3 separate regions of the Homo sapiens genome follow, and all the other regions are linked to region 1. The links are contacts of gene promoters, found by promoter capture Hi-C in blood cells and fetal thymus (Javierre and others, 2016). All regions are on one chromosome and are shown on one strand. Each heading gives the region's core, a stretch centred on a gene start or on the middle of the fragment in contact. The rest is flanking DNA. Distances are from core to core; before and after follow the strand shown. Region 1 holds the start of SERINC5 (serine incorporator 5). Region 2 overlaps LINC01337 (long intergenic non-protein coding RNA 1337). Region 3 overlaps MSH3 (mutS homolog 3).

What was found. The method cuts DNA at HindIII sites, captures the fragments that hold promoters and counts their contacts. A CHiCAGO score of 5 or more calls a contact.
Region 2: a fragment that was not itself captured here is called in contact with the fragment with the promoter of SERINC5 in region 1 in 1 of 17 cell types (neutrophils); the score reaches 5.5 in neutrophils.
Region 3: a contact is called between a fragment that was not itself captured here and the fragment with the promoter of SERINC5 in region 1, in 1 of 17 cell types (neutrophils). The highest score is 8.5, in neutrophils.

The regions. Positions count from the first base shown.
Region 1 is chr5:80,254,512-80,257,464 of GRCh38, forward strand. It overlaps SERINC5 (serine incorporator 5), which reads right to left and starts at 1,537. Exons shown (of 12, transcript NM_001174072.3): 1 at 1,385-1,537. The coding sequence starts at 1,411. RefSeq lists silencers at 1,020-1,299, 1,410-1,849 and enhancers at 1,703-2,636, 2,637-2,953. The HindIII fragment of the contact is 9,277 bases long and covers 1-2,063 here.
Region 2 is chr5:80,613,767-80,616,606 of GRCh38, forward strand. The region is part of intron 1 of LINC01337 (long intergenic non-protein coding RNA 1337); the gene reads right to left. Among named protein-coding and RNA genes, the nearest start is that of LINC01337, 7.3 kb to the right of the region's middle. The HindIII fragment of the contact is 2,249 bases long and covers 127-2,375 here.
Region 3 is chr5:80,677,621-80,680,697 of GRCh38, forward strand. MSH3 (mutS homolog 3) reads left to right here. Exons shown (of 24, transcript NM_002439.5): 8 at 1,307-1,473. Among named protein-coding and RNA genes, the nearest start is that of DHFR, 24 kb to the left of the region's middle. The HindIII fragment of the contact is 5,096 bases long and covers 1-3,077 here.

The DNA of each region.
Region 1 (2,953 bases), core at 287-2,786:
GGGACCAGGACAGATGCCCCTAAAGAGCTGTATCATTACTACGTAATAAAAAGTGTCGCATCATATTGGAGAAAAAGTATTTCAAAACGGGAATAAAAGATTTGCAGAGCTTTCTGAAAACAGTCTTTCCTGGTCCACCTTGTTCTCAAATACCTGGTAAGGTGGTGACCATTCTCATTCTCTTTCTCTCTCTGCCTGACACAGGGAAAAAAAATCATTTCGTCTCAGTCGTCAAAAGCCTCAATTTCCTCAACTCTGAAAAGGCCAGCTTTAATGTATGCCAAGCACAGTATTAGACCTCAAAAACCAAGACAGCTCCACGTGGCCACTCTAAACAGGACAGATTATCTGCCAGTATAATCGCCGGTTACAGAAACCCACAGTTTAACCACTCCATCACTTACAGCTGGCCTCGATTGTGGAAAGGCTGAGTGTCAGCAAGAACACCCCGAACCAGGATGCTCCCTAGAGTCTGATTCGTTCGTGAAAACACTCCATTAAAACTCTGTACCGAAACGCTGATAATCCACATGTAAAGGGAGAAAAGAGCTCCACATCCAAGAGACTCACCTACTTCGTTTTTTCTAACTCTGCAGGAAGGAGTGAAACCAGCATTACAGGGCTAAGACGTACTAATTCTACACTGATGCAGTAACTGGTAGGAGACATAATGTTTTAAGACATCATAGGTTTAAATAGGCGAGAGTTAAAAAACAGGTTCGAACAAGTTTATTTGCAAAGAGAGGCAGGAAGGTTCCAGCCCTACCCAGGCAGTCGTGCTAGTACCGAGCCAGGGTTGGGTCGGGAAATTCAGGAAGCAGGGCTGAGTTTTCCCTTCGCCCAGACCTGCGCCCGGTAGTTTGGAAGTCAGGCTTCGAGACATTCTCAAAGGTACAGAGCCCACGCTCGACTACGAGATGCCAAGCGCAACCTGCCTGGGTTGTTTGACCCGAGTTTTATTCAGGGCATAGCAAAGGAGACGGTGCCTAAACCCACTTTTCTTCCTGGATTCATCCGACAAGCAGAGTGGAGAGGGCTACGGAGCTCAGCGCTATTCACCAGTGCTCGGCGCAAGAGGCGACACGCCCCTGGAGCAGTCGGGATCCTCCGCCCGAGCCCGGCACGCCCCGCTCCACGCGGAGTCCCGGAGGCCGGACGGGAAGACCCCGGGGTAGCCTCTCGGGCTTCCCCCTGCCCCTTCCCGCCCGCCCAGGGCACAGGATTTCCCGGACGGCTGAGCGCCGCGGGGCCAGCCCGAGCGACCCACCCGGGCCCTACGTTCGGCCGCGGAGCTGGGAGCGCACCCAGGCAGGTCCTCCACGCCTGGACTCCTGGCCCGGTTCTCCGATCTGACAACCCCCGCGCTGCGCCCGGCCTCGCTCACCTGGCCCGCACAGCACTGAGCTGACATCGCGGCGGCCAATGCCGAAGGCGCGCTCGCTGGCTCCCCGCGCCGCACGGGCCCTCCTGGCTGCCTCGCGCCTCGAGCGCTGGGCTCAGCCGCAGCTCACACTTGAACGAAGATCAGCCTCGGCGAAGCGCCTAGGCGCCGAGGCCTGGGTAAAAACAACTGCGGCCAAGCCCCGCCCCGCCGCCGGCCCCGCCTCGCCCGCCCCCAGCCCCGCCCCGTGCCCGCCCCTTCCCGGGCGCCCGGCGGCGGAGCAGGCTCGACCCGGGCTCGCACTTCCGCTGGCGTCAGGCGGGTGGGCTGCTGCGATCACTTCCCGGTTGGGGCGCCGAGCTCCGGAGTCGGCCGCCAGCCTTTGGGCCCCACGCTCCGGGTCTGGTGCGCGGTCTGGCCGCGCTCGGGCCCTCGCCAAATGAGAGCGCAGCGCCTCTCCGCCTTCGGATCCAGAGAAAGAGCTTGTTGCTGCCTCTAAAAGGTTGGAGCCTTAGTAAGCGGTTCCTGCCTTTCCTGCACAGACCAGACCGCCGGGTGCTGGTCTGCGCTCTGCCGCGCGCCGACTGGGACAGCCCACCCACGAGATCCTTGTTCCTGAAATCCCTTTCCTTCCCTCATCTGCCAAGAAAACTTTCAACTTTTGGGCTCTCCGCGCCTCCCAAGCTTCCTCGAATCCCTGGGCCCTTGACTGTTCTGCCCTGATGGCACTTGGTGAGAGATCCATTGAGAGCCCTTTCCGTGCCTTCCTGAATATTGATATGTTTTCCAGCCTCTCCTCCTGCGCTGGCCCAAGGACTCATTTTCCGTCCCTGCTTCCTCACTAAAAAGAGGGTGCCCAATAATTGCTTGTTCCATACAGAAGGCAGGGAGGCCGTCTCTAGGTTTTCTCCCACTCAGATCTGCTGTCCTCACAGCCACCTCCCCAAGAGGAATGAAGGTATTTCTTTTTTTTTTTTCTTTTTTTTCTCTGAGACGGAGCTTCACTCTGTCGCCCAGGCTGGAGTGCAGTGACGCGATCTCGGCTCACTGCAACCTCTGCCTCCCGAGTAGCTGGGATTACAGGCGCCTGCCACCACGCCCGGCTAATTTTTTGTATTTTTAGTAGAGACGGGGTTTCACCATCTTGGCCAGGCTGGTCTCGAACTCCTGACCTCAGGTGATCCGCCCGCCTCGGCCTCCCAAAGTGCTGGGATTACAGGCGTGAGCCACCGCGCCCTGCCGGAATGAAGATATTTCTGTTAGTGCGATTTTTGCGCCAATCCCTTTGCTCTTTCAAATAAGCATTACCGTACCCATTTTAGCGGTGAGGCAACTGAAGCCCAGAGAGGTTAAATAACTTGCCCAAAGCCTCACAGCAAAGTTGAGGAAGTAAAACTGGGCCTGGAATCCACTCGTCTGATCCCCTGGCACATGACGCAAGGCTTGACCTTAGAGGGACTCGTTTCCAGACAGAGCTCTGGCAAAGGAGTGTCTTGGGCAGCTTAGGAGTAGAAGAGGAAAGGTGAATGGAAACCAGGCCTTGGGTTATGAGCTGCGCAGGATTTTCCAGCA
Region 2 (2,840 bases), core at 1-2,500, 360 kb after region 1:
ATTGAAATTTGAGTTCAGAGGCTTAACTCAGATTAAACTTTTTGGCAAAAAGACTACATAAGTAGTGCTGTGTGCTTCATTTTGCCAAATTTCCCTTCACAGGGGTTATACCTGAGAATGATGTTAAGCTTTGAGTTTTATGGTGCAGTTCTAATTGACATTTATTTAATTTTAGTGATGTTAAGCAGCCTTTCATATGCTTAAGAGCCATTTCTGTTTAAGGGCTATTTTGTGACCTTCATATCATTTGCTCATTTGTTCTATCAGCTTTTGCTTTTTTTCTTCTCTATTTTTCAACTTTTAATATATTATGGAGACTGAAACTTCTAAAAAAAAATGTACTTGCTTGTGTAAACCTCAACAATTGTGTTTTCTCTTAGCATTCTCTATGAATTATTCTGGGTTTATAAGAAAAAATGATGACTTTCCCAGGTCCTTTTTTACTGAAAAGCAGGAATATGTGAGATGTTGTCCTTCACTTTCATCCCCAAATATAGATTACCTTGACAGGTATAATATATACACTTTATGGTCTAAGCATGTGTTGCCCTGACCTTTACATATCTATAGTCCTTGGCCAGCTCCATCTCACATTGGCTGCCAGTTCTGGGGCTCACATTCTTCAAGCATGTGCTCCTCCTCCTCAGAGAGCCTTGCTCCATCTCTCCATATTCATGGATGTCCAAAGAAAACAGTCCATTTTCTGTTGCTTATAACAGAATACCTGAAAACTGTGTAGTTTACAAAGTAAAGGCATTTATTTCTTACAGTTATGGAGGCTGAGAGTCCAAGGTTGAGGAGCCTCATCTGGTGAGAGCCTTCTTGCTGGTGGGGACTCTCTGCAGAGTCCCTGAGGAGGCACAGAACATCACATGGCAAGGGGGCTGAGCATGCTAGCTCAGGTCTGTTTTCCTCTTCTTATGAAGCCATCCATTAGTTTATTAACCCACTAATCTATTAATTCATTAATTCATGAGTAGATTAATCCATTGGTATATATATGAATATATATACATGAAAGAGACCCCAACTGACTCCCAGCAGGGTCCCTGGGCCATGGGGCCTTCACATTCAGGTTTTGGTTTGTGTGTGTATCTTGACACTCAACACCCTGTCCCGCCCAATCACATGAGGTGATTCTAGTGTTTGTTCCTTGCAACTAGTGATTTTAATGAACATTCCAAGGGGGACCCAGAATTGAAACCCAAGCCTTCTCTCTCTGAGGCCAGTGCTCTTTCCACCATTTCAGGGCAAGGGGCATTGTCTTTGTGCAGATTTTGATGGCGGTCCACGTGGAAAAAAGGGCACATATTACATGTATTTTATGACAATGAAAAACATGTAATTGTAAATGTGAGTGGGCAGAGACAGCCAGCAAGGGAAACCAAATCCCCTCTCAATTCAATGGAGACCAGTAGGAGGGTCTCAAGAAACTGAAAAGAGGCCCTGATTACAGTGCCTGTGTGTACAAGGCATCCGCCTTCTCTGCTCTCTCTCTACCCAAATCCAGGGGAGTCTCGGCTGCCCTCCCACCACCTCCACCTGCCAGTGCTTGCCCGCGGGGCTACAGAGGAAGACAGCAGCCACGCCTGCATATGGGCTTCTGCACTGCTAGCCTCAAGGCTGCCAGAGTGCAAAGAATGCCAGGATAATGGCTTTATCCACGTGTGGCCTTTTGACACATAAGCTAATGACTATATTCCAGGTACAAATAGTTCTTTCCCACGAGCTGTTTCTGCAGGTCTCCAAACAGACAATTACCCGGTTCCACTTAACAGAGTGACTCAAGGACGGATCTGAGGGCTGGGTCTTGTGAACGCGGGCTGTTGTCCTGCCCTCTCCCAGCTCTAACATTGTGCTGAAAAGTTAAAATACAAAACGCCAAAGCTCCCCAATCCCATCCCACGCCCCTGCCTGCGCAGCCTTTCATGCATTGAATGGGCAGCTTCATGATGCTGCTGCGACAATAGCGACAATAGCGGGGGCAGAGGAGTTTGCTCACCCTCTTGCTTCTCTGAAAAGATGCCTCTGCCTGACAGTTACCTACCCTGGGGGTCACCTTTTGAAACCGACTGAAAAGAGCTTATCTTATAATCAACATTTCCCAGAAATCACTCACAAGCCACAGGCTATGAAAAGAAACAGATTTTGAGAAACTGCATTCAATGGACATCATTGTTCAAAGTTTGCCGAGCTGAAGGCCGGCTGTTGGAATATTTTCAGATTTGATGTTCCAGAAGGATGCTTTTTAAAGCTGCAAATACCTGCAAGCACTGATAAAAAAGCAAGAGTGGGATGTCCTATTTGAGCTGGAATTTCAGGAGCATAGGGAAGATAATCTTCAAAGTTCGAGTTCACTTTTCATTTTTGATCTAAGCTTGAAAAATCACTGAACTATGGGGAAGGAGGTGACAATTAAGACCCAACCACAAATCAACAACCTGCGGAATGTGGTTGTCATTTTGCTTAGACTGAACCACAAACTCTTAAGCATACTGATAGATCAACAAATGTGACTTCAGTACTTAAAGAGAATGTTGCCTTCTTCCCAAGACACTTTCTGATGTGAAAATGGAATAACTCCAAGGAGGCATATAGCACAATTGCATTTTGTCACTTTGATTGCTGTGATGGTTAGTTTTCTCTGCTGACTTGGCCAGGCTTTAGTACTCAGTGATGTAAACAATCATGAATCTAGGTGTTGCTATGAAAGTATTTTGTAGATATAGTTAACACCTGTGTAGGTATGGAAAGGGATGATACCTTTTCCTAACCATTATAAGAGTCACGGTTGACATTTCTGTAATAAAAGCCAAGTTAACAAGAGAAAAGCATAACAA
Region 3 (3,077 bases), core at 455-2,954, 420 kb after region 1:
AGATCCCTGGGTGTCCATTCCCTCCAGAGGTGTCTGTAATCCAGACTTTGAAGATGATAATTTCCTTGCTTTTAGTTGGAGCTTCTAGTTCCAGCCTTGCCACCTTAAACGTTATATACAAATGTAAATATAGTGTGTGTATTCTTTTGGGTTTTGCTCCTTTTGTTTACCATTTTGTATGTGAGATTTATTTACATGTGTCGCTGTAGTTCTCTCATTGCCTTTTCCTATTTCATTTTATGATCTACAGTTTATTCATTCCTGTTGATGGACATGTGCATTCTTTCTAGTTTACAGTTGTACAGAGAATGCTGCTGTAAATATTTTTGTATGTCTTGTATCGTATACAAATGCCTGAGTTTCTCCAGAGTATATCCTTGGGGGAGGAATTGCTGAATTATAGGGTGTGGATACTTCAACATTCCTAGATAATGCCTTGCTGTTGTCAGAAGTGGCTTTCCATCAGTAGTATATGAACATAGGGATTGGTGATTTTTCCTCTTTTTAGCTAATGCAGCCTGTAACTAGCCCCCATGGCTTTCATAAGCATCCGTAGTGGCTAACAGTGTGGATTGGGGAGTAGTCAGATTTCCTGGGTTTGAATCTTGACTCTACTCCATTGTCACTCTGGGACCTTGGCTAGAAACTTCCTATCACTTCTCCAAACCATGATCTTTTCCAGTTTATCTTTGCTATTATTGGCTTAGGATGTTAGGGAGCAGGTTCAAGTTGGCATGATTATTCTACTGGATAGACTGTCTACTTGGGCTTCATTCAGAGTTTGATAAAGTATACATTTTATGTGTTACTTTGATGTATGAAGTAGTAATTTACTACAGTACTGGTGGTCTGGTTACTAGGACCATGTCACTTGTTACTTTGAGTGATAACTACTATTTGTACAGTGCTTTATAGTTTACAAATAATTCCTGTTTATTTTATAATTTGATCCTTACAATAACCTTATGAGAGAAGTAGGCTGGTTTGGTTCCATTTACAGAGGAAGAAACTGAGGCCTGGCAGTGTTTGGTAACTTGCCATAGTCACTCCGTTAGGTATATTAACTCCAGGCCTTGTATTCAGGGCGGCTCTCGGAAATCTGATTTATAGTATCATTTAGATATCTGTGAGTCTGACTCTTCGTGTAAGAGTCCTGAAAAGCAGACAGGTTTCTAACACTTTAGAAATAGAGTACATACATACTCCTGAGTGTATCATCTTTACTTTTTCCATGTTTATGCTGTGTTATAGCCATAACTGGGGAAATACATTTTTTCTGTAACATTATATTTGTATTTGTTTTTAGGGAGTGCAGCCTGCCACAGGCGAGGTTGTGTTTGATAGTTTCCAGGACTCTGCTTCTCGTTCAGAGCTAGAAACCCGGATGTCAAGCCTGCAGCCAGTAGAGCTGCTGCTTCCTTCGGCCTTGTCCGAGCAAACAGAGGCGCTCATCCACAGAGCCACATCTGTTAGGTAAGTTGGCACATCACTGGAATATAATACCGATTCTGAAACTTAGGTTTAGTTCCAAAACTGATACTTATTAAAGTTGCTAAAAATAGTTTTTACTTACAAAAATTATATTTCCACTGTAGTAGTGGAAATTTAAAAAAAAAAGTAAAACAACAAAGCTGGGCATGGTGGCACATGCATGTAATCTCAGCCACTTGGGAGGCTGAGGAGGAAGGATTGCTTGAGCCCCGGAATCTGAGACCAGCCTGGGCAACTAAGGTGAGATCTCATATCTAAAAAACAAATAGAAGAAACACCACCTACCCCTACTATCACCTTAATGTAGAACTTTAGAAGGCAGTCTTTTTGAAGAGGTTTCTGATATTTAATGATATTATTTGATAATTATGGGGTTTATGATATTTAATTATTGGTAATCTTCAGTTTCTAGAGATAATTTAGAGTTCACTTCTTACAAAGTTTATGTAACTTTGGAGATGCTTTGTCTGTGCTGCAAGTTTCAATTCATGGCTGTGTCCAGTGGTTTTGTTTACTGGATCTAAGATCAGACCACTTACGTATGAAGCAGTGTGCTAGGCGCTGTGCGTACAGAGGAAGAAGATGTGGTTATGATATATGTCTGGCAGAGTTTACAACCTCACATGAGAGTCAGATGTGTGCATACCTAACTGGACTTAAAGGCATGATGTATTAAGTGCTAAACGTGAAGGTGCCTTGTTGGAAAGACTCCGTACTGCCACCTGGAGTGTGGTGGGAAAGAGACCAGAAAGGTGTGCTGGGGCTTCAGCGAAGTAGACTGTATATTGACGAATTTGGACTTTGGACTAGGCAGAGAAGCCCATGAGGATTTTCATGTAGTAGGTAGACAAATCATTTAGAAAATCGAGGCCAGGCACGGTGGCTCACGCCTGTAATCCTAGCACTTTGGGAGGCTGAGGCGGGTGGATCACCTGAGGTCAGCAGTTCAAGACAGCTTGGCCAAAACCCCGTTTCTACTAAAAAAAAAAAATACAAAAATTAGCTGGGTGTGGTGGCAGACACCTGTATTCCCAGCTACCCCGGAGGCTGAGGCAGGATAATCGCTTGAACTTGGGAAGCAGAGGTTGCAATGAGCCAAGATCACACCACTTCACTCCAGCCTGGGCGAAAGAGCAAGACTCTTATCTCAAAAAAAAAAAAAGAAAATCAAACTGATTGATTAAGTGAAGTTCCATATGTTTCTTTGTCCTTAGTGTTGTGTTCATTTTCATTTGAATTTAATTTCTTTCGAAGTAGCTTTCATAATTTGTTTTTCTGATTATAAAACTAATATATGTTCATTCAGAAGACAAAAAAAAAAGGATAAATTCATAAGTTGAATTCTGTAACCCAGAGAAAATGACTGTTAAACATTTTGGCACATTATTTCCGTGTGTGTATATCACTTTTTTCCATTTGTGAACTTGCATTCCTGCTGCAAAATCACTTTTCTATTCTGTGGTTTTTTTTTTTTTAACTTTACAATTCCCCATTTTTAAAAACTTTATTGCAGAACATTTCAAACATACACAAAATTATACAGAATAGTGTCATGAACTCCTGTCACTCTATTAGCCAGCTTCAGC